Linked DNA regions of Homo sapiens: regions 2, 3 and 4 are each linked to region 1. Evidence: promoter capture Hi-C in human tissues and cell types (Jung and others, 2019). All regions are on one chromosome and are shown on one strand. The core of a region is centred on a gene start or on the middle of the fragment in contact, and the rest is flanking DNA. Distances in the headings are between cores, read along the strand shown. Region 1 holds the start of SIM2 (SIM bHLH transcription factor 2). Region 2 has its middle 88 kb from the start of SIM2. Region 3 overlaps HLCS (holocarboxylase synthetase). Region 4 overlaps HLCS (holocarboxylase synthetase).

Evidence for each region. The method cuts DNA at HindIII sites, captures the fragments that hold promoters and counts their contacts. A contact is called where the count stands out against the background at its distance.
Region 2: a fragment that was not itself captured here is called in contact with the fragment with the promoter of SIM2 in region 1 in 3 of the 25 tissues and cell types used here (IMR-90 fibroblasts, aorta and dorsolateral prefrontal cortex).
Region 3: a contact is called between a fragment that was not itself captured here and the fragment with the promoter of SIM2 in region 1, in 3 of the 25 tissues and cell types used here (IMR-90 fibroblasts, heart left ventricle and spleen).
Region 4: a fragment that was not itself captured here is called in contact with the fragment with the promoter of SIM2 in region 1 in 3 of the 25 tissues and cell types used here (H1 embryonic stem cells, dorsolateral prefrontal cortex and stomach).

The regions. Positions count from the first base shown.
Region 1 is chr21:36,697,763-36,703,371 of GRCh38, forward strand. SIM2 (SIM bHLH transcription factor 2) reads left to right here and starts at 1,353. Exons shown (of 11, transcript NM_005069.6): 1 at 1,353-2,159. The coding sequence starts at 1,985. LOC105369308 (a long non-coding RNA gene) reads right to left here and starts at 1,229. Exons shown (of 3, transcript NR_188246.1): 1 at 1,147-1,229. LOC107985492 (a long non-coding RNA gene) reads left to right here and starts at 2,754. Exons shown (of 4, transcript XR_001755029.1): 1 at 2,754-5,609. RefSeq lists enhancers at 2,580-3,173, 3,174-3,766. The HindIII fragment of the contact is 19,577 bases long and covers 1-5,609 here.
Region 2 is chr21:36,608,764-36,614,394 of GRCh38, forward strand. No RefSeq gene overlaps it. Among named protein-coding and RNA genes, the nearest start is that of SIM2, 88 kb to the right of the region's middle. The HindIII fragment of the contact is 5,164 bases long and covers 812-5,631 here.
Region 3 is chr21:36,790,193-36,795,826 of GRCh38, forward strand. The region is part of intron 6 of HLCS (holocarboxylase synthetase); the gene reads right to left. LOC105369305 (a long non-coding RNA gene) reads left to right here. Exons shown (of 2, transcript XR_937700.3): 1 at 1-5,634. Among named protein-coding and RNA genes, the nearest start is that of SIM2, 94 kb to the left of the region's middle. The HindIII fragment of the contact is 5,536 bases long and covers 363-5,634 here.
Region 4 is chr21:36,760,876-36,766,190 of GRCh38, forward strand. It overlaps HLCS (holocarboxylase synthetase), which reads right to left. Exons shown (of 11, transcript NM_001352514.2): 8 at 4,137-4,297. Among named protein-coding and RNA genes, the nearest start is that of SIM2, 64 kb to the left of the region's middle. The HindIII fragment of the contact is 4,893 bases long and covers 1,085-5,315 here.

The DNA.
Region 1 (5,609 bases), core at 103-2,602:
GAAGCGGATACTCAGTCGCTGTCCGACGGCGAGTTTTCGGAGCAGCAGGCTCATGATCCCGGGCCAGTGGCGAGAGCAGTGACACCGAGAACCCAAATCTCCGCGCCCCCATCCGCGGCCCGGTGTCCTCCCGGCCCCTGCTGACCTCCAGGTCACGCACCCCACTGCTCCACGGCTCTGCAGCCTGTGGCACACGGCCGAGAGTCCCCACATGATCTCGACGCCAAGGTAAGGAATTGCCCTGCGTCCTCTGAGCCTGTCTCTGGCCTGGGGGGCCGGGAAAGCTGCACTCCTGGAAGAGGTGGGGTTATGTGACCGCCGCTGCAGGGGTGCGCGGAGGACTCCTGGGCCGCACACCCATTTCCAGGCTGCGGGAGCCGGACAGGGGAGGGCAGAGGGGGGACAAAAGGACTCTTTAGGTCCAAAATGACCCTGAAGGAGAGTCCAGAATGCCCAGTGGCCGCGTCTGCAACGGAGTCTTCTTTCTCCAATTGCCTTCTGCCCCATCACCATGGGCCCCACCTGCGCCACCTGCGCCCACCCTGTGACCCTGGCTCAGCGACCTTGGCCCTTAATCGCCCAACGCCGATTCCTCAAAATTCCGGCTGCGCTGAATCGGGCTGCTTTTGCCGCCGCCCCGGCAGTTGGGCCCTGTTTCCGCCGGCGCCCTGGGAGAGGCCTCACCACTCGGCTGGGCTCCCTGGCCCCTCCCTTCCCCTGGCCTGAGCGCCCCTGCGGCCTCCCGCTCCTCCTGAGAAGGCGACAATCTCTTTGCACCTTAGTGTTTCGAGGACAGAAAGGGCAGAAGGGTCACTTCGGAGCCACTCGCGCCGTTTTCACGTGTGTGTGTAATGGGGGGAGGGGGGCTCCCGGCTTTCCCCTTTTCAGCTCTTGGACCTGCAACACCGGGAGGGCGAGGACGCGGGACCAGCGCACCCTCGGAAGGCTCGATCCTCCCCGGCAGGGCGCCTGGCCAACGAGTCGCGCCGCCTCCTCTCGGCCGCGCCTGCTGGTGACCTTCCCGAGAGCCACAGGGGCGGCCTCGGCACCCCTCCTTCCCTCGCCCTCCCTGCCGCCCATCCTAGCTCCGGGGTCCGGCGACCGGCGCTCAGGAGCGGGTCCCCGCGGCGCGCCGTGTGCACTCACCGCGACTTCCCCGAACCCGGGAGCGCGCGGGTCTCTCCCGGGAGAGTCCCTGGAGGCAGCGACGCGGAGGCGCGCCTGTGACTCCAGGGCCGCGGCGGGGTCGGAGGCAAGATTCGCCGCCCCCGCCCCCGCCGCGGTCCCTCCCCCCTCCCGCTCCCCCCTCCGGGACCCAGGCGGCCAGTGCTCCGCCCGAAGGCGGGTCTGCCATAAACAAACGCGGCTCGGCCGCACGTGGACAGCGGAGGTGCTGCGCCTAGCCACACATCGCGGGCTCCGGCGCTGCGTCTCCAGGCACAGGGAGCCGCCAGGAAGGGCAGGAGAGCGCGCCCGGGCCAGGGCCCGGCCCCAGCCGCCTGCGACTCGCTCCCCTCCGCTGGGCTCCCGCTCCATGGCTCCGCGGCCACCGCCGCCCCTGTCGCCCTCCGGTCCGGAGGGGCCTTGCCGCAGCCGGTTCGAGCACTCGACGAAGGAGTAAGCAGCGCCTCCGCCTCCGCGCCGGCCGCCCCCACCCCCCAGGAAGGCCGAGGCAGGAGAGGCAGGAGGGAGGAAACAGGAGCGAGCAGGAACGGGGCTCCGGTTGCTGCAGGACGGTCCAGCCCGGAGGAGGCTGCGCTCCGGGCAGCGGCGGGCGGCGCCGCCGGGTTGCTCGGAGCTCAGGCCCGGCGGCTGCGGGGAGGCGTCTCGGAACCCCGGGAGGCCCCCCGCACCTGCCCGCGGCCCACTCCGCGGACTCACCTGGCTCCCGGCTCCCCCTTCCCCATCCCCGCCGCCGCAGCCCGAGCGGGGCTCCGCGGGCCTGGAGCACGGCCGGGTCTAATATGCCCGGAGCCGAGGCGCGATGAAGGAGAAGTCCAAGAATGCGGCCAAGACCAGGAGGGAGAAGGAAAATGGCGAGTTTTACGAGCTTGCCAAGCTGCTCCCGCTGCCGTCGGCCATCACTTCGCAGCTGGACAAAGCGTCCATCATCCGCCTCACCACGAGCTACCTGAAGATGCGCGCCGTCTTCCCCGAAGGTGAGGCCTCAGGTGGGCGGCCGGGGACGCTGGGGAGCCCGGCGGCCCCGGCCCAGGCGGGAAGCGCAAGCCAGCCCGCCCAGAGGGGTTGCCGCGGCCTGGCGTCCAGAGCTGGGGCGTCTGAGGGAGGTTGCGTGAGGGTCTTCGGCTTCGGCGCTGGCTTGGGGCGAGGGGCCAGGGCCTTGGCGGCCCAGGCGACCAAACCCTCTCCTGGTCCAGGGCTGGGTGAGGGCGAATTACGAATTGTTCCAGGGGCAGGCAGTCCCCCAGCCCGCACGGCCAGCGAGTTCTTTCTGGTTTTGTTCTTTCTCCCTTTCCTCCTTCCTTCCTTCGCCAGTGCATTCTGGTTTGGTTTGGATTTTTTTCTCTCTTTCTTTCCTTTCTTTCTTTCTTTCTCTTTCTTTTTCTTTCTTTCTTCCTCTTTCTTTCATTCTCCCCTTCCTTCCTTCCTTGGCCCCCTCTCTCCCTCCCTCCTTCCTTCCTTCCTTTGCCAATGCATTGGTTTGTTTTCTTTCCTTTTCTGCTTTCCTTCCTTTCTTTGGAAGTTCACTCTGGTTTTGCTTTCTTTCTTTCCCCATCCCTTCCTTTCTTTATCCCTCCTTCCCTTCCTCCTTTTCTTTCTACGATTCCCTTTATTTTTCCTTCATTCCTCCCTCTTTTTGTCTCTTCTGGAGGAGGTGAAGGAGGGTCAGCTTCAGGCGCTGCGAGTCAGCGGGGATCACGGTGAGGCCCAAGCACTGCAGGCTGAGGCCACAGAGCGAACACTTGTGCTGAGCCGGGCCCTCTCGTGAGGCTGGGGTGCGGGAAGTCCGGGCAGGAGAGACCCGCCCCCGCCGTTGCTGAGCTGAGACCCGGCTGAAAGAGAGGGGTCCGATTAATTCGAAAATGGCAGACAGAGCTGAGCGCTGCCGTTCTTTTCAGGATTGAAAATGTGCCAGTGGGCCAGGGGCGCTGGGACCCGCGGTGCGGAAGACTCGGAACAGGAAGAAATAGTGGCGCGCTGGGTGGGCTGCCCCGCCGCCCACGCCGGTTGCCGCTGGTGACAGTGGCTGCCCGGCCAGGCACCTCCGAGCAGCAGGTCTGAGCGTTTTTGGCGTCCCAAGCGTTCCGGGCCGCGTCTTCCAGAGCCTCTGCTCCCAGCGGGGTCGCTGCGGCCTGGCCCGAAGGATTTGACTCTTTGCTGGGAGGCGCGCTGCTCAGGGTTCTGGTGGGTCCTCTGGGCCCAGGAGCTGGGAGGGCTGCGCCGGCCTCTGGAGCCCCGGGAGCCAGTGCCGAGGTAGGGAGACAACTTCCGCCGCAGGGCGCCGGACGGTCGGGGCAGAGCAGGCGACAGGTGTCCCTAGGCCGCAGGGCGCTTCCATAGCGCCATCCCCACCAGGCACTCTACTCGAAATCGGAAAGCTCGACCTTTTGCGTTCGCCTCTGCCAAGCCTGTTATTTGTGCTGGCCGCTGGGTCTGGAGCTGCGCTTCTCGGCCCCTCCCCGGTGGAGCGCAGAGGGCTGGTCTGCAAGCGCGGCCTCCAGCCCCGCGGCTCCCCGGCCCAGGAGCCAGGCGCGGGCTGACCCGGGAGCACCCGGCAGCGGAGGGGGCTGGAAGCGGACCCTAGGCCTCTCCTGTGCCACCCGGCCCTACCGCGCGGCCGCGGGGCGCTCTCCTCTCGGGCGCAGCGGTCCTTCAGCCCAGGGCAGGTTCCTCCCTTTCCTACTCGGAACGTGGCAAAGATACCCCAGTCCCAGCCCCTCCAGCTGAGAGCTGTTGCCCAAGGTCGTCGCTACTTGTCCGCTCAATGGTGACCCCTTGGCAGAGAACTAGGGATGATTCCACTCCGGTTGATGTTTTAGGGGAAATTAAAAGAACATTCGGTTTTCTGAGTCTCCTTCCGGGGAGGCGTGGTGGTAACTGGTTTGCTGGGAAGAGCCGTTCCTTAACCGCATGCAACAAAGCAGGTGTGGAATCCGGACGAGAGGGCACTCACTGCCTTCTGCCCCCTTTGGAAATAGAAAAAGCCTTCGAAGCAGCAATCCAAAGATCAAATGATTTGCGGTCAATGATTTCAATTAAACCAGAAATTAGTAAGGGAGGGCCGAGAAGACACGGCTGCTCAGAAGCTGTTCGCTGTTTGAGGGATTTCCCGGAGAGCCTGTTAAAAGATGCGAAGTGGTGGGTGTACCGCTCAGCCACCTTTAAACCGGCTCTGTGCGTTCTGGCTCTGGAAAGCAAGTCTCCAGGCATTTGGGCTCAGAATTGCTGGGCCCCGAGTTTGGGCGGGGGTGGTCCTTCTGGGGGTCAGGCCTTGAGCAGCTTGCACTGGTGGCAGGTTTGGGAGCAGTTGAGGGGCTTCCTGTGTGTCTTTTGGAGGGGGTGACCCTGGAAGTTGGCACTCTGGAAGGGAGCTGTTTGGCCCTAGAGTTTTGGAAAGGGCCCTGAACCTGTTCGGTCCCCCTCGGAAAGGGAAGGGAGCAGTGGCTTAGTCCCTCCCTCCTCCATTCGTGCAATGCCTGGGGTAGGGGTAGACCTGGAGCCGGTGGACTCATATCCTTGGAATTCGTCAGGACAGCTGCTCCGGGGCCTTGGCCCTCAGTCAGTCTGGGGCTGAGGAGTAGGGAAGCTGGGAACTTGGGGCAGAGGAAGAAGATGCGTTTAGAAAGACCTCCATTATGCAAACTGGAGTCCATTTATGCAAACTGGTCACCCTTCCAGTAGCTCCAAAGAGTGGCAGTGGAGTGGCATCTTGATTGATTTAACCTCTTCTCAGGGGACCTGGGTCTGCGAGGGAGGATATGGCTGCGGGGTTGGAATAGGATCTGTCTGAGCTGCCAGGGTCAGGGTGGTGGCCCTAGGGAGGTTTTAGGGCCAGGGTGGTCCCGGGCTGTGGCAGGGGCTCTCAGATCGCCTCGGGCTCTCAGCTGCAAGGTGAAAAATACCATGAGGAATTGATCTGCCAAGGGCGGTCTTGTCTCAAAGCAAGTGGATTGCTGGGGTAAAGAATCTAGAGACCAGCTTAGGACTCTGGGAGGAAGAAAAAAAAAAAAAGAATAGCATAGTCCTAAGGAACTGCAAGGATCACCAGATTAACCCTTCATACCTGGGGAAATTAAGGCCAGACATGACACAGGCCTTTCCCAAGGCTCTGTAGCAAGGGCAATAGCAGGCCAGTTGCTGCCACTGCGGTCCTGTGGGGCATGTTCTCACTCCACTGCACCCAGGAGGCTGCCAGCCTCTGTTCCTTTTAACATAGATCTCCTCAGTTGTTAAGACAGAAAGAGGAACTCAGAGGGGTCCCTGTGTGCAAGGCAGAGGGAGACCACCAGAACCAGGGTAAGCACCCCACTTGGTAGCCAGTTCAAGGACTTGGGGATGTTTTCAACATTTACAGCGAGGTTTGAGGCCCCATTGTCATGCAGCGCTACTCGGCCTTGGTCTCCTTATCTGTAAAATGGGCCCATTAG
Region 2 (5,631 bases), core at 2,144-4,643, 87 kb before region 1:
TGGCTAGTCACAGTAAGTTAGATTTTCATCTTTAAACTCATGACCTCATGATCAGAAGATGTCTCTAAAGCTGTAGATGCAACAACATTTCAAACAGGAACACATAGGGTGACGAGCCAACTCCCTTTGCCCAAGGCTGAGGGGTTACTAGAAAGTCCCAAGTTAACTGGGACAAGTTGGTTACCCTATGGCCACCTTTTGTTAGGGAAGAACATCTTCCCCAGAAATTCCAGCATGTTCTCCTTGGTCTGTTGATCCAGAACTAGGTCATATCCTCACCACTAGACCAATGACTGGCAAGGAGGCCCAGGATCCCCCTGCTGTGATTCATCCCCTGGGGCTAGAGAAGACCCTCCCCTGGGCTTGCCCAACACTGAAACAGAATGGAGATTCTATTGGCCAGGAAGAAGGTGAGGAACCCAGACATTCGCCAGAGTGCTCATGAAAACAATTAATTTCCCAGTTAGCCAAATCTTACCAACCAAGCAGATTGTGTGTGTTAGACACATTATTCATTCATTTATTCCTTATTATTTATTCCTTGAACAAATATATGTGCAAGCTCTAGCCTGGGCCAAGTGGGTCTAGGGGGACCTCCCCCACCCCAGTTCACTCCTCCCACACTGTGGGGCCTACAGAGCTCCAGGTGATTCTGGCAGAAACTCGACCATGGCCAACTGGTGCTCCAGGAAACAGAGGGACCTTTGACCTAATTATTCCCAATTGCTTGTCTCCATCAATCACATTCTCTTGATAATTGCCCAGCTCCCCACTCTGTTCTTCAGTTTTTTTGTCAATAAAAAGGAGAATATTATACCTATTTCATAGGATTGTTGAAGAATTAAGTAACTTAATACAAGTAAAGTTCACAGAGTTTGCCTGGCACATGGGAAACATTCAATCAATGTTAGCTATTACTATAACACTTGTGGTAGTTTTTCAAATGGGTTAAAAATCCTTTTGCACTTCTTTCTTTTCAGGTGGGGGGGATGGAGGGGAGAGTAAATCTATGTTCCTGTCCCTTGAATCTGTGTGGACTCTAACTGCCTTGACCACTGGGATATAGGAATGTGACTTTGAGGCTGGGTCATAAAAGGGCATACCTCTCCTTCCTTGTTTATGGGAACACTTGCTCTTGGAGTGCTACCCTGAGACCTCCATACTGGGCAAGTAAGATGGAGCATTCTGCTCCACAGTCCTAGCTGAGCCCAGCCTTCTAGCTATCCCCATCAAGGTGCCAGACATCACAGTCCCTCCAGCCTAACCAACTGGTACCAGCAATGACCTCCATCCATCAACACCATGTGCAACAGAAGAATTGCCCAACTGAGCCCTTCCCAAATTCACAGCACAAAATTGGGGGCTATAATAAAATGATTGTTGTTTTAAGGTATGAATTGTTGGAGTTGTTTGTTACACAGCAACAGATAACTGAGACACTACTCCTACAGTTGCTTATTATTACTACTATTATGATTATTCTTATTAGTATTAAAAGACTGTGCCACTTGAATCTTGCCCTAACTATTTCTGGCTAATAAACTGCCCTTTAAGAAGCTACAGAAATATTCCTTATGAACTGTTGCTCCAGGACTTGTCCAGGAAAATGACTCATCTTATGTGATCTGGCCCCAAAGAACATATCAAGCTCAGTGTACAATAAACACTAGCAAGCCAATATTTGTCTTTTAAAACTCTGAAAAGTTCAAAGCCAAACCAAATGTCAAACTAACAAGCATGCCTCCCATTTTTAAATAAAAAATATAAAACCTAAATTCCTGATTTCCCCTGAATATAGCAGACGTGCCTGGGAGAGCCTGATTCCTGTAACACACCAGCCAAGGAGGAAAGACGCTAATGGTCTTGTGTTCTTTCTACCTGTCAAAGTGAAGGAAAACAACACATTGCTTTTAAACAATATTTATGTAACACTCCCCAGAAGCTGTACCTGCTGAAGTAAACTATAACCTTTCTCTCTTTAAACACCTTTTACTTGTTATTCAAATAGGAAGTTATTCTTTCAGAATTAGCTACATCTGTCAACCTAGCATTCCTGACTGCCACATAGAACGTTCTTACCATATCCCATCTCCTCAATAACTTTCTCTCAAGCTTAATTTCCCCCTAGGTTTCATTTATTTTTGTGAACTCCCTGGGGCTTCCTGACAAAAGAAACCTTTAGGACTGTAGGTAACGGTAGGTAACATGGTCTGCACGTTTAGGGCTATATTTTCTTTTATTAGATTTTTCAACTCAGAGTAAGACAGTGGGACAAATCCACGCTGAAGGCAATTAGGTTTTTATTAATGGTTCCACAGACCCGACGTTTGTTATAAGCCTTAATGCACCAACTTTCTTGTCTCCTTCATGGGTTTAAAAGGTGTCCAGTGTGTTCTCAGATGTGTTTTTGTTGGATGGGCATGGGCTATAGCTCTTTGGCAGGAAAGCGTGGGTTGAGTAGACGAAAATGTACTGGATTCTATCTGCAAAATTCCAAGCACTCACTTCCATTGTTTCCTTATGTGCCATGCATTTATCAGGATGAAACCATCCCCTTTCCTTCACTGATCATTGTTTATAACCGCTTATCCATGGATGGGTGTTCCAGCTTTCGGCCTTGCCTGAAAAACATGCAGATGATTGCAATCTGCATTCTACCTGTAACTAATCCCATCCACAGCCTCTCCCATCTGCCACGGACTCTCCTCCCTGCGACTTTTAGTGATACAGAGTGAGGTTAGTCCTGGCTACTCTCCAGCAGAATTTCACACATAAGGCAAGGGCCAAGCAGAGATGTCCCTTACCCACCCAAGAGAACATGACAGAGAGGGCCACAGTGGGACTCTGGTGGAGGGTAGTTTAAGGAAGAGGAGGGGGCTTCGTTTTCAAGAGAATGAATTCGACCGATCTGGCCCGAGAATGCATTCCTGGCTGCACCTGTGAGGTGTTCGATGAACAAACTGGCTTTGGGTTTTCCTGGATGTCGTCTGATCTGAGTGGAATCCAGAGAGGTGCAATCAGGGTCTTGGAAGACTGAAAGCAAATGGTGGATTGGATGGGTTCATCTTCACTCTGCTTTTTCATCTTTTTCAAATTTGCAAACTGCTCTTTGCATGCCACACAGACACAACCATCACTAGGTCCTCTGCTGAACACCTATGGCGGTCCAGGTCCCACCCAGCAGGCTTCCTGTCAGATTTTCCAGATTTAGCTTCAAAATAGGTCGTATTTATTATGCCCTGCCTAGTTCCAGAAAGGGTTGGAGGCAGCTAACTTAAAAACATAATTATGAAAAGCTGATTCGGCTTCTTATTTGGTTAAAGATGTTTTGCTGTAAATGTGAAAAAATATTTTAAATCCTCTTTTTTATTTTAGAGTGATCTTTGAAGATGATTACCTTATTTTACAAACAGACGTTTCTAATAATTGAATACCATTAAATATCTGTCCAAAAATTTCCTTTTGACCTCAAAATTACAACTAATATATAGTGTTTTTGTTTCTTCCTAACGACAAGGAAATCTGATGTCATTGTGTAAATGATGCAGAAGAAATGTTTTGCATGGGCAAAAGTGCACTATCTCAAGGATTTGGATAAACTTTTATGTCATTGTCCTTGTCTGTGGCACAGTGTGGGGCGGGGGAGGGGGTCCTCTGCTCTGATCCACCCCAACACCCGAATGGTCTTAGTATTTTATATTATATTATATTATATTATATTATTTCATTCAACATTGAGGCACACTGCCTTTTAATTTTTTCCTTCTGTGGACCACTTGAACTCTCGATTTCCCATGGTTTATTAAAATACCCAAATGTCATTCTTTTACTTCGATTTTATAAATAAACCTTTGGCTGTATCTGTCAGGGAGGGCTGAATTTACTAATTCTCAGGCCAAACCAGGCTGTGCTGGGACTCAGTGGCAGTTCGTGGCCATGCAGGCAATTCTGCTGGCCTGGTTGTTGCTGCCGTTTCCTGACGTGCCCTCTGTTCCCTGCCCAAACAACCCTCAGCGTTGGACAGATGAGAGAAAGGAGAAGATAAATGCTCTCCCGTCTGGTGTGGAGATAATGCCTGACCACTCATCCTCCTTCCTGCTTTTATTCCGGGTGTAGATGGTGAGCCTGCCCATGGCCCAGTCTTTCACATGGAGCAGCAGGGCGTTCTCTCCAGTGGGAAGTAGCTCATGTCAGTTTCAATCATTTCCATTCCGGGCATTTTGCAGACCTTGGCTTCTTCTTGAGAAAGGTGAGCAGAGATATCCAGTGCCTCGAGGAGCCCAAAATGCATGATCCTGGTGCCTGTCACAGAGATATCCAGTGCCTCCAGGAGCCCAAAATGCATGATCCTGGTGCCTGTCCCAGGTCTTCCCTCCTGGGTAGAATCTTCTGACCCGAATGTGGGGAAGCACAATGACCCCTAATCGCAAAGGAATGTTGGAGGATCATGCTGTGCACTCACTGCGGAGATGCATGTTTGGATTACGTGTTCTCATTTAGCAGCCGCCCGTTTGACAGGACATACTGCACGCCAGCCCTCTTGTTGACTTAGTTCCTGTACTGGCAAAGCCAAATAAACTGAGTTTGAGGAAGAGTGTGATTCGGGGGGAGAGGGCTGATTGGTGAGGACAGATTGGCGGTGAAGGGGAATTGAGTAGAGCCGTGGCTGCAGCTGTGAAAGAGGTGGGTGCACCCAAGTTCAACCGCATGTGGGCTGCCCACAAGACTACAGGAGCCTGGGTTCTGGAGGCGCTCTATGTCCCCAGGTCGAGGGGCTTAATTTACTGTTGTGTTTTGTTTGTGTAACAAAATATGTAATAGTACCTCATAAAACAAAACAGAAAAAGGAATGAAATCATAGGGTGGTGACTTCTTTCTAAAAAGGACTCCCCATGTTTGGAGCTCTGGGGGCAGGGCATTGTGCTAAGCGACTTTAACACATGGATATCTCTGTGCGGGTGACTTAGTCTGTTTGTGCTGCTATAACAAAATGCCACAGATGATGCAATTTATAAACAATGGAAATTTGTTGCTCAAGTTCTGTAGGCTAAGAAACTCAAGATCAAGATGGGCTGGGCGTGGTGTCTCATGCCTGTAATCCCAGCATTTTGGGAGGCTGTGGCAGGAGGAACACTTGAGCCCAGGAGTTTGAAACCAGCCTGGGCAACACAGTGAGACCCCATCTCTAAAAAAAAAATGTTTTTTAATTCACTGGGCATAGTGGCATGCACCTGTAGTCCCAGGTACTCAGTGGGCTGAGGTGGAAGAATTGCTTGAGCCTGGGAAGTTGAGACCACAGTGAGCTGTATTTGTACCACTGCATTCCAGCCTGGGTGACAAAGTGAGACCTTGTCTCAAAAAATAAAAATAAAAAAGATCAAGGTGGAAGCAGATTCTGTGTCTTGTGATGGCCCATTCCTTGTAGATGGTGACTTCTGTATGTCCTCGCATGGCAGAAGAGGTGAACAATCTTCCTCAGATCCCCCTTTATAAGCTTGCTGCTGTGGTTTGAATGTCTCCCCAAGTTCATGTGTTGGAAACAATCCTTAATGCAACAGTAATGAGAAATGAAAACTTTAAGAGGTGATTAGGTTATAAGGACTCTACCCTCATGCTCATGAATGATTTCAC
Region 3 (5,634 bases), core at 1,881-4,380, 94 kb after region 1:
CAGGAGATCAAGACCATCCTAGCCAACATGGTGAAACCCTGTCTCTACTAAAAATACAAAAATTAGCTGGGTGTGGTGGGGTGCACCTGTAATCCCAGCTACTCAGGAGGCTGAGGCAGGAGAATTGCTTGAACCCAGGAGGTGAAGGTTACAGTGAGCTGAGATCGTGCGACTGCACTCCAGCCTGGCGATGGAGTGGGACCCCATCTCAAAACAAACAAACAAACAAACAAAAAAACATTTTGGTGTGTGTGTTTGTTGGCTGATGTAGAGGGTGAAAACAGCCAACAAACACACCAAAATCATGGAGGATTAGGAAGTGGGACCTATGGTGTTTCCTTGGCTCTTCATTCAGATTGAAGACAGGAAACAACCACATAGACATATTCTGTATCTGGCTGCCTTTCCCATGATCTTACGCTTCCGTGGCTCAATGGCTGCCTTTCCCACGATCTTATGCTTTTGATCATCCATGGAGAAAAACGCAAACGGACGCAGGAATGCTCCAATCTGGGCTGTGAAGGCTCAGACAGGCAGGAGGCTGTCTGCCCAGGAAGGCAGGTCAGAAGCTGCTATTAACCACTCTGGCAGGGCAGTGTTTCTGTCAGCCTGCAGAGCACTTCAGGTTCTGGGAGCAGCTGATGGCAGAACTGTGGTGTTCTCTCCGTGGAAAAAAAATGAGGAAGTCAGCAAAATGTTCTTAAGCCATTCCGTCCACCATTTTGTCCATCTGTGTTGATTTGGCAGTGGTGTTGGCAAAGAACCTGGGTGTAGGACAATGTGCTTTGTAAACAGAAGAAAATGAAATGATAGATGCAGGGGTGCCTTTGTTTGAGCTTGCTTGTATTTAAAGTTGGCTAAATATGCCTCAGCAGAGATCTTTGGGGACATGAATCATAATAGAAAAAAACAGCAACATATAGGCTTGTCCAAAATAAAACCTGCTCACCGTGCCTCAGGTAACCCTAAGAAGCGTCCTCTGTTGTAAAAACAATTCAAATACATACCAAGTAGCAAGAATCGCATAAGGAAACCCCACATAGGATGTCCGGGGCAACAACATGCAGACCCCCACCCCTGCCGGAGCCGAGTACACACCAACCCACACATCCAGGGCTCTGGGCAGCGGTGACTGTTCAGTGAGACCGCTTTCAGCATTTGCGAGAAGCTGCTCACCAACTGCCAAGTTCCTGCTGGGTCGGCCAAGAGGTATGAACCAAAAATGAAAAAACATGAAAGGTTTGTTTTTTAAAGGCAATACATCAAACATAAAAAGAGCCCTTTTGTATGAATTTTCAGTGTGGGAGCCAGAGAGGAGAAAAAATCATTTTCCCTCCTGGGAGGAAGCAGTTTGACCTCACCTGCGACTTTTCTCTTACGGTGTGGATTTTTCTCACCCCATTAAATGTAACCTACTCTAGGTGGGTTAGTACCATGTGAGAGAAATAGGGGGTGATGGGGAATATGGCAGACAGGCAGGCTGGGGCTCAGACAGAATGCCGAGCACCCTCGAGGGTGGGCCCTCGAGGGCCACGGAAGCGGGTGCCACGGGGCTGCATGGAATGCGGCTGCTCCAAGGGGCCTGTTTGCTGGACACACAAGGATTAAGTTTCCATGGCTCCAAAACCCTTGCAGCCTCCCACCCCACCCCCGGCAAAAGCACTCTTTGCAAAAGGAAAGGAAAAAAGAACAACCAAGTTAGAATGGGGTTATCTTCTTACCACTTTCACAAAGAAAGGGCTGGCTGGGATGGACACAGCAGGTTTCCCACTGTGAAGCCATCAGAAAGGCAGCGGAAAAAAACCTCATGGCAGTTAGGTGTGGGCCAGCCACACAGACAGGAACAAGCGAGCTTTCAAACCTAGAAGGTGAGTGCGCTACCTGTCAGCGTTCACAGGACTTTGCTCTGAAGAACAGTAAAAGACCATCTCAGCACCGGGTCCCTAAATCCCCTTCCCATTAACCAGGTGCCAATAGTGAAACCTAGAAGGGGACCCTGGTAAATCACCCGGCGGCTACCCCGCAGGCTCCCAGCGCTACGCTCTGGGGACCGTCAGCCTTTTCTTCTGTCACACAGCAGGAGAATGAGCTCACTTTGGCATCTGTGTGACCAGGGACGGCTGCCATCTGTGTGTCACTGTTATCAGTGGTCAGAGCAGAAGTAGCAGGTGGAACCATGTGAAATCCCTAACATTCAACCGTTTAGACCTGCAAAAATGGCTCTTTCCTTCGATTTACCCTGATGATGACAAGAAAAGGAGAAGGGGGGGAGGGAAGGGAGAGGGGGAGGGAAGGGATGGAAGGGAAGGGAGCGGGGGGAGGAGGAGGACGACCATGATCATCAGCCAATTGTGCTACGTCAGTCCAGAGTGAGCTGCTACTTATGATTTCATTTCCTCCTTAGACTGATGGGAGCAATGACAATCCCCATTTGTAGATGAGGCACCTGCTCAGAGAACTGAAGTTACTCATCCAGGGTCACATGGCTGTCAAGAGGCATGCCCAGTACCTATGACAAACATTCATCCCCAAGTAACGAAGCCAACAACCTGTGTCTCACTCCAGAACCACAGAGCTGTTACAACACGTGGTGCCTCCTGAGCCAGCAGCCAGGGGCAAGAACGAGAGGATGCAGGGAGAGGCTCTGGGGAAAGGGCTGTGTCCCCTCAGTCATGTGACCCCCAGGCTTTCTAGAGTGACTCATGGTGAGGACAGCAAAGATCTCAAAATGCTGTCTAGACCTTAACTCTGCCCATCACCCCATCCATTTGGTTTTGTTTCCCTTTCATTTGCATGTGTAGTCACATGCTCAGCATCCTTGGGGGCAGCTGCATCTGTGGTCCTCCAGAACCCCAAGCTTTGCAGTTGGACTTGAACCCCTCATGCGCTTTTGATTCCTGATTAAATAACCTGATTCGAGTTGTTGAGATCTTTAGTTTACATCAAATAATTCTTCTTTCTATTGCTCCATTCACTTCTGCACATTGCCTTAGGTACCGATTCATTTTCTCTACGACCCCCGCTGCTTACATGAGTTCTAAGATCATCCACAGGTGTGTGCCTGTCGGAGGGCTCGGAGAACACGGGACAGCAGGAAGCAGTCTTTTTTTTTTTTTTTTTTGAGATAGAGTCTCGCTCTGTTGCCCAGGCTGGAGTGCAGTGGCGCAATCTTGGCTCACTTCTACCTCTGCCTCCTGGGCCCCAGTTCAAGCAATTCTCCTTCCTCAGCCTCCCAAGTAGCTGGGATTACAGGCATGCACCACCATGCCCAAATAATTTTTGTATTTTTAGTAGAGACAGAGTTTCTCCATGTTGGCCAGGCTGGTCTTGAACTCCGGACCTTGTGATCCACCCGCCTCGGCCTCCCAAAGTGCTGGGGTTACAGGTGTGAGCCACCGCGCCCAGCCAGGATGCAATCTTATTGGTGTGTCACTTTTAGCCCAAGAAGCAAAAAAGTGGAGTGAGTAAGCTGGTAGGATCAACTGTTATTTTTATATTAAAACAAACATGTACCAGAATTATGGAGTAAAAATTATGCAAAATTTACAAGCATGTTAGAGATAAATCAGACCTTAAAGAAATTTAGTGCTAGTCAGAAGCTACATAAATGGTCAGGCATGTGGCTGCTGGTGCAATATTGTCCCTTTACGGCCAAGAGACCTCAGACAAGTTACTTAACCTCTCCCATCGAAAGCATCTCTCATGAAGATGCTGCTTCAGTCATAGGGTTGTCAGGAGGATATACCAAGTTAGTGCCTATGTGGACAGCTGTTTAGAAGCCTCAGAGCACCCTGTGAATGTGCTTTCAGACCTGCCCTGGATTCTTAGCTTCTACTAAGGACGAGCTACGGGTGTGACTGGGTTACGCTTGGCTCATTCTGGCCTCCCTGCCGCAACTTTTCCAAAGAGGCGATCTCTGAGCTCCTGGGAGCAAACCCATGAGGATACAGATGATTCGGCAACTTTGTGCCAGGCCCTCTCCAGGCTCTGGGGTTGTTTCTGTGAACAAATGCTCTGTCTCTGCACCCAGGGAGCTGGCATTCTAGTATGTGTGTGCAAGGCGGTGGGAGAGAGACATAAATGCATAATGTGTCAATGCAGTGAAAACAAAATACAGCAGATAAGGGGTACAAGGAAGGACAAAGGATGGGGTGTTCAAGTGGTCCCTGAAGGCTGCTGCAATAAGGCATTTGTTCAGAAAGAAGATAGTGAGAGCATACCATGAAGACATGTGACAGAGGACTATTCCAGGCAGAGGCAGCGGCAAGGCCAAAGGCCCTCAGTGGGATTGGAGAGGAACAAAAAGGTGACCGACGTGGCTGAAGCACACTCTGTGCGTATGGGGTTGGGGGGAATAGGAATAAGGGTTATGCTGGTTGGGGGACAGATTTGGAAGTGTGCAGGTCATAGTAAGAACTCTGGATTTTTTACTGAATGAAGTAGGAAGCAACACTGAGCCTTTCTAAGCTAACAGGGATGAGATAACTAAGTTACATTTTAAAGGAATTCACCTGGCTGCCACATGGAAAACAGCCTGGTGGAAGGAAGAAAGAGATGTGTTCTGCACATTTTGAAAGTGGAACAAAGAGGACCTGATGATGAACTGAGCTCCTGAAAGGAAGATGGAGTCAAGGGTGAGTTCACGACTTCTGGCACACACAACTCAAGGAAAAAGCGATGTGCCGTTTCCCAAAAGCAGGAGGCAAGGGCTGAGCAGGCTGGAGGGTGGAATCTGGTGCTGGACTTAGATGTAGCAAGCATAAGATGCCTATGAGACAGCCCACGGAATCCAAGCAGAAGTCTGGAGTGGGAGGGAGAGGTCTGGGCTAGGATATTCATTTGGGAATCATTATCGTGGAGATGGTTCTTAGAACCATGGGACCAGGAGAGGTCAGCCAGCGAATGAGTTGGGCTGGAGAGGGGAAGACGTCTGATTAACCTGACTTTGTTCTCTGGCAAAGGCACCAGGTTGAGAATTCAGAAACTCATATCCCTGGTTTCTTTTTAGCAAACACGAAGCATGGTGACCAAGCCATGTCATCACACTGGAACCGCAAAAAAGAGAAGAAAGGAAATGCGCTTCGTCTTCTGCGAGGACACATTGACGGTGCTCAGCTAGCCAGCATCTAGGTCCCACAGAGGGCAGGAGGGATCCGGAAACACTGAGGTCCCCTCCTGAGAGGCTCATGCCCTCACATACTTTCTTAATATAATCAAAATGGGAGTAAATGATGACAATATGCAACTTTCCAAATACTGAGGGTTCTGGACCAAGCTACTGAAACAGATTTCATAGTTGCTATGCTCCATACTCTGCCTAGCATACGGTAGTCATTTTATAAACATTTGACAAATAGTTATATTTCTAACAGAAACCAGAAATTTGGGGCCATGACTCCTTTACAGCTCAAGAAATATGCAAAATTAGTATTCCCTGAGAGACAGATGTCTGAAGGCCCCAAGCAGTCCAACCCTGTCCTGTCATAGCCTGAGACATCCTGCCTTAGGGAGTAAGTTATTACTAACTGTGGACAAGCTCTGTTTCCCTTTTGGAGGAACTGAGGGCAGAGATCCTGCCATTAATTCCTCCCCCAGTGCCTGGGATAGTGCCCTGTGCACAGCAAATGCCCAATA
Region 4 (5,315 bases), core at 2,281-4,780, 65 kb after region 1:
GACGGGGCTAGCCGAGTGGGTGTCAGAACCACCAGGTCTTTTAGACCTCGGGCTGGCAGCCAGGCTGTGCCATGTGTGGGTAAAGGAAGCCTGTCTGGAGATGCAAGGCTGGAAGAGAACATTCAGCAAAATAAAGCTAAGGGAGCAGAGAGTAGCTGATGGCCTCCAAGGGCCACGGGGCTGGTCTTCCCACGTTGCAGGCCGGGCATGGCACCAAGCACCTTCTCAGCATTAGTCTACGTGTTACTCACACCCAGCCTATGTGTTGGTGCTAGCGCATCCCCAGGGAACAGAGGGAGAAACGGAAGCTTAGAGAAATTATGTGGCTTGCCTGAGGTTATAGCACTTGAAAGCCACGGAGCTAAAATTCAAACCTTTCTGCCACCAGGCCTGGGTGAGGAATCCTATGCTACGCGGCCTGTTGCTTCCATGAAATCCCTTCCTCCTTCCAACAGGCCTTCTTTTGACTTCGGCCCGTTAGAGCATATTGGAAGCTCATCTGCCCTAAAACAGTAGTTTAGGCTGAGAGAAAAAATACAGGAATAGGAGCACAGGAGAACAAAAAGTCTAAGTAAACCAAGCATGGGGGGTGCGCAATGACCCAGAACTGATCAACAGCTTCACGTTTCTTTTCTCTCTAGAACGGGGGTTCTCAGTGGGAGAGGGGTGGATTTGGCGATACTGGGAGACTTCCCTGGTTGTCACAGCCTGAGGGAGTGCTACCGGCGTCTAGAGAGTAGAGGCCGCAATGCTGACACACATCCTTTAAGGCACAGGACATCCCCACGACAAACATGCCAGGGCCCACATATCAATAGCACTGGGCTGAGAAAGTCTCCTCTAGGAAACCTGTGTCTAGGAGGCTCTGCTCTTCATCACTGCCCCCAGTTCCCTTTCCTTCCCCTCTCTCGCCTTCCCACATCCCCCTGTGCCCACCACATGGCCAGGGGAATGAGCCCCTGCCTCGCCGGCGGGAGGACACCTGCAGAGTTCCCAGAGCTGTCAAGCTCCTCCGCCACGTGCGTGGCAGCTGGTGCCTGGGCGGGCCCTGCACTTGGGCTCCAGCTCGCCTTCATGGCTTCAGATCTCCTCGGCTCATGAAGCAGCTCATGAAACTCTGGGTTCTCACGCAGGTAAACAGGACCAGCATTTCCACATGAAGAGGAGGACTGTGTGCTCATTTTTCATTTTCTCAATCATTTATTCCAACAGCTGCTGTGATCCTCCCACATAAAAAAAGACCAAAATGAAACAAATCCTGCTTTTGAAGAGCTGCTAACATCATGGGAGACGGAACAGGTGCACACATCACTCCTCTTCAAAGCCACACGTGGTGGATACCCTAAAAGAGGCTTCAACATGGCAAGTGCTGGACAGTGCTGGAGGAAAGAGCTGGAAGTAGCTGGAGGGTCTGAGAATGGCACTGGAGCTGGGCCTTAAGGATGAACAGAATTTTAAGAAGCAGAGAAGAGAGCAGGGGTAGGGGTGTGTGGGTGGAGGGAGGGTGCGGGGCCCGGGGGGACTTCATGGACAGAAGAAAGAGCAGGAGTGAGAATGGGCGGCCCAAGGCGAGTTCCGGAAGGAATGCCTGCATCCCAGCGAGGCCGCCTTGGGTCTGGGGAGGGTGGTCATGATTTGTGTGCTGACGGTGACATCTGGTTAGGGACCAGTTGGGGTCCTAGTGAAGGCCACACAAAAAGTGAAATCCAAACAACAGGGGCCTATTTCAATCAAAGTAGCTGCACTGTGTCAGCTAACTTGACTATGTTAAAAAAGAAACCCAATTCAAAATCAAATGTCCCATCACACAGGTGAGGCTGGGTAGCTGACTGCAGAAGAGGGAAAGAACATTGGTACAAGCTTCTTAAGGAGAACGGGAACACAAATTCCCCCGACCCCGTTCACCGCTGAAGGCAAGCTTCCCACTTCCATCCTGGCCTCCAGCGCCTGGCGCACGCAGCCTCTGAGCACAGCAGGCCCTCAAAGAATGCTCGCTAAGGGAACTAGTGGGGCTCCAAGGTCAAAGTCAGAGCCATGAAAAAGCTAAACAGACCAAACAGACTCATTTAATGTTCTCGGCTTAGTGTTTGTTTTAGTTATTTTCCTAAGACTAACTTGTTGCTAGAGTTAATTTCTCCCATGACAGGACTTTCTTTCTTCCTTTTTTTGATACGAGTCTCACTCTGTCGTCCAGGCTGGAGTGCAATGGCACAATCTCGGCTCACCGCAACCTCTGCCTCCCGAGTTCAAGCGATTCTTGTGCCTCAGCCTCCCGAGTAGCTGAGATTACAGGCACCCATCACCATGTCTGGCTACTTTTTGTGTTTTTAGTAGAGATGGGGTTTCACCATGTTGGCCAGGCTGGTCTCAAACTCCTGCCCTCCTCAACCTCCCAAAGTGCTGGGATTACAGGCATGAGCCACCGCGCCTGGCCAGGACTTTCTATTTTGATTGCTTCCTGCTAGACAGAATGCACAGCTCAGGTGCTCAAGGCCGGGCACCTGAAGCCCTGTAATGGTGTGATGCCCCCAAACCATCAGATATGCAAGGATGCTGGGTGCCTGGTAGTAAGCGTCCGTTTCAGCGATGTGATGTAATACAGGAAACAGAGACGTCAGCATTAACTACATCTGTGGAATACCAAAAATTCATACACAGCAAATACATCACAGAGGGATTTAAGGGGCAGTGAGAAGGACCTTTTCTTCAATGAAATGATGACAGGACCTCCAAGTCTCCTTTGAGAGTCACGCTCTTAACATCTTGCTTCAGGAATCAATCCAATCATTTCTCTTTAGCCTGACATAGGAGCTGCTGGGGGAGGGAGGCAGGAATCTCCTATTTATACCCATATGAAATTCTTCCAGGAACATTTGGGAGGGGGCTATGGGAAGTGAAGCCCAAGTAGGGAAGAAAATGCTTCGGTCACTGAGCTAATTGTTCCCTGTTGCTTGTCTTTTTAATAACTGACAACAAAACATCCAACAGTAATAAGGAAGCAGGCACACGGGTCCTAATAGCTGGGGGAAGATGGCCCCAAGTGGATCTGCACATTGTATGTGGTCAACAGTGGATAAAGGATAGTTCTGTTAGAGCACAGAGTCTGGTAAACAGAAGTAGGAAATGAGAAAGGTTTTTAGGTCCCCAAATAACCCTTTTCAACAGAAAATGCAGATGAACAACTTCAATCCAGTCCAACAATCAAATCTCATCCAGTGCTTCAAACAAAAAACAAACATGCAGCTGGGCGTGGTGGCTCACGCCTGTAATCCCAACACTTTGGGAGGCTGAGGCGGGCGGATCACAAGGTCAAGAGATTGAGACCATCCTGGCCAACATGGTGAAACTCCATCTCTACTAACAACACAAAAACTAGCTGTGTGTGATGGTGCACACCTGTAGTCCCAGCTACTCAGGAGGCTGAGGCAGGGGAATTGCTTGAACCCTGGAGGCGGAGATTGCAGTGAGCCGAGATGGCGCCACTGCACTCCAGCTTGGTGACAAAGTGAGACTCTGTCTCAAAAAAATAAATACATAAGTAAACATGACCAGGTGCAGTGGCTCATGCCTATAATCCCAGAACTTTGGGAAGCTGAAGCAGGCAGACTGCTTGAGCTCAGGACTTCAAGACCAGCCTGGGCCACATGGTGAAACCCCATCTCTACTAAAAATACAACAAAAGAGCCAGGGGTGGTGGTGTGTACCTATGGTCCCAGCTACTCGGGAGGCTGAGGTGTGAGGATTGCTTAAGACTGGAAGGTGGAGGTTGCAGTGAGCCGAGATAGTGCCACTGCACTCCAGCGTGGGTGACAGAGTGAGACCCTGTCTCAATTAAAATAAATAAATAAACAACAACAAAAACCAAAAACTAAAGCGTTGCCCTCATCAGGCTGTTTGAGAAATCTGAAAAACTGGGTAGAAAGGGAGTTCTGGGGAATGAATGCATTCAGGCAAGCCTGAAGCAGCATTAGCACCTGGTGGTGCTCTGAAAACTCCGAGAGCACTTTGCTGCCAGCTGTGCAAAGGGTAGGCTGAGGTTCTACAGCCACCAATTATGCAAGCACATGCTATAAACAAGAATAAGCCAGATTCTGCATGCATCCCAGGGACATAGAAGGAGACTGAACTGTACCTACCTGATACTCGGGAATGGACCTCACTGCTTCCACGACAGCCACGGACATCAGATGCTGGACAAACGGGATCCTCTGTCCCAGCTGGGATCTCAGTGGAATGGAGATGAGCAGAGTAGAAAGAGCACATCCCACAGGGCTCAGCCACACATTCCCTCCCCGTCCTGGAACACAGGCCACAGTGGGAAACATGCTACCTTGCCACGTGGACAGACGCAGACACACGTCATGCCAGGGCCACACACTCAAATAAATCTGAACTTATTACAATGCTTATTGTATTACAACGCTTATTATATTCTGGGCTTAATAAAAGAAAAGCTTTTTAAAATCTGAAGCTCTGTTGCTGAAAAAGTTTCCAATAATTAGCATAATGTTCTGCTTCTGTGAGCATATCATTTGTGCCTTGATGACTCAGAGTCTTACAGCGTCTGAACATGACTATATGACTATAGGTTTAATTCCCAGCATATGGTCATGAAGGCAAACACAGACATTGGGAAACTGAACTGAATCTATACTGATCCATGAGAGGTCCTGGAAGCCACTGTTTAGAAGCAATTCCTATTGTGGCGATGGTTGCTCAGCCCAGCAAATATGCCATTAAATAAGAGCCACAGAACTGTGTACTTTATTTATTTTTATTATTATTTTTTAAGATGGAGTCTCACTATGCCACCCAGGTTGGAGTGCAGTGCGTGTGATCTCAGCTCACTGCAACCTCTGCCTCCTGGGTTCAAGTGATTCTCCTGCCTCAGCCTCCCAAGTAACTGGGATTAAGGTGCCCGCCACCATTCCCAGGTAAGTTTTGTATTTTTAGTAGAGACAGGGTTTCACCATGTTGGTCAGGCTGGTCTTGAACTCCTGACTTCAAGTTATCTGCCCGCCTCGGCCTCCCAAAGTGTTGGGATTACAGGCATGAGCCACCACGCCCAGCCACACTTTAAATGGAGGAATTATATTTCAATAAAGCTGTTTAAAAAGGGATTCCTGATATTAACTGAGTTGTTATTTTTCTTTACTTCCTTTCTTTCTTCCTTTTTATTTTTGAGACAGGGTCTTGCTCTGTTGCCTAGGCTGGAATGCAGTGGCGTGATTACAGCTCACTGGGCTCAAGTGATGCTCCCACCTCAGGCTCCCAAGTAGTTGGGACTACAGGTGAGTACCACCATGCCCGGCTGA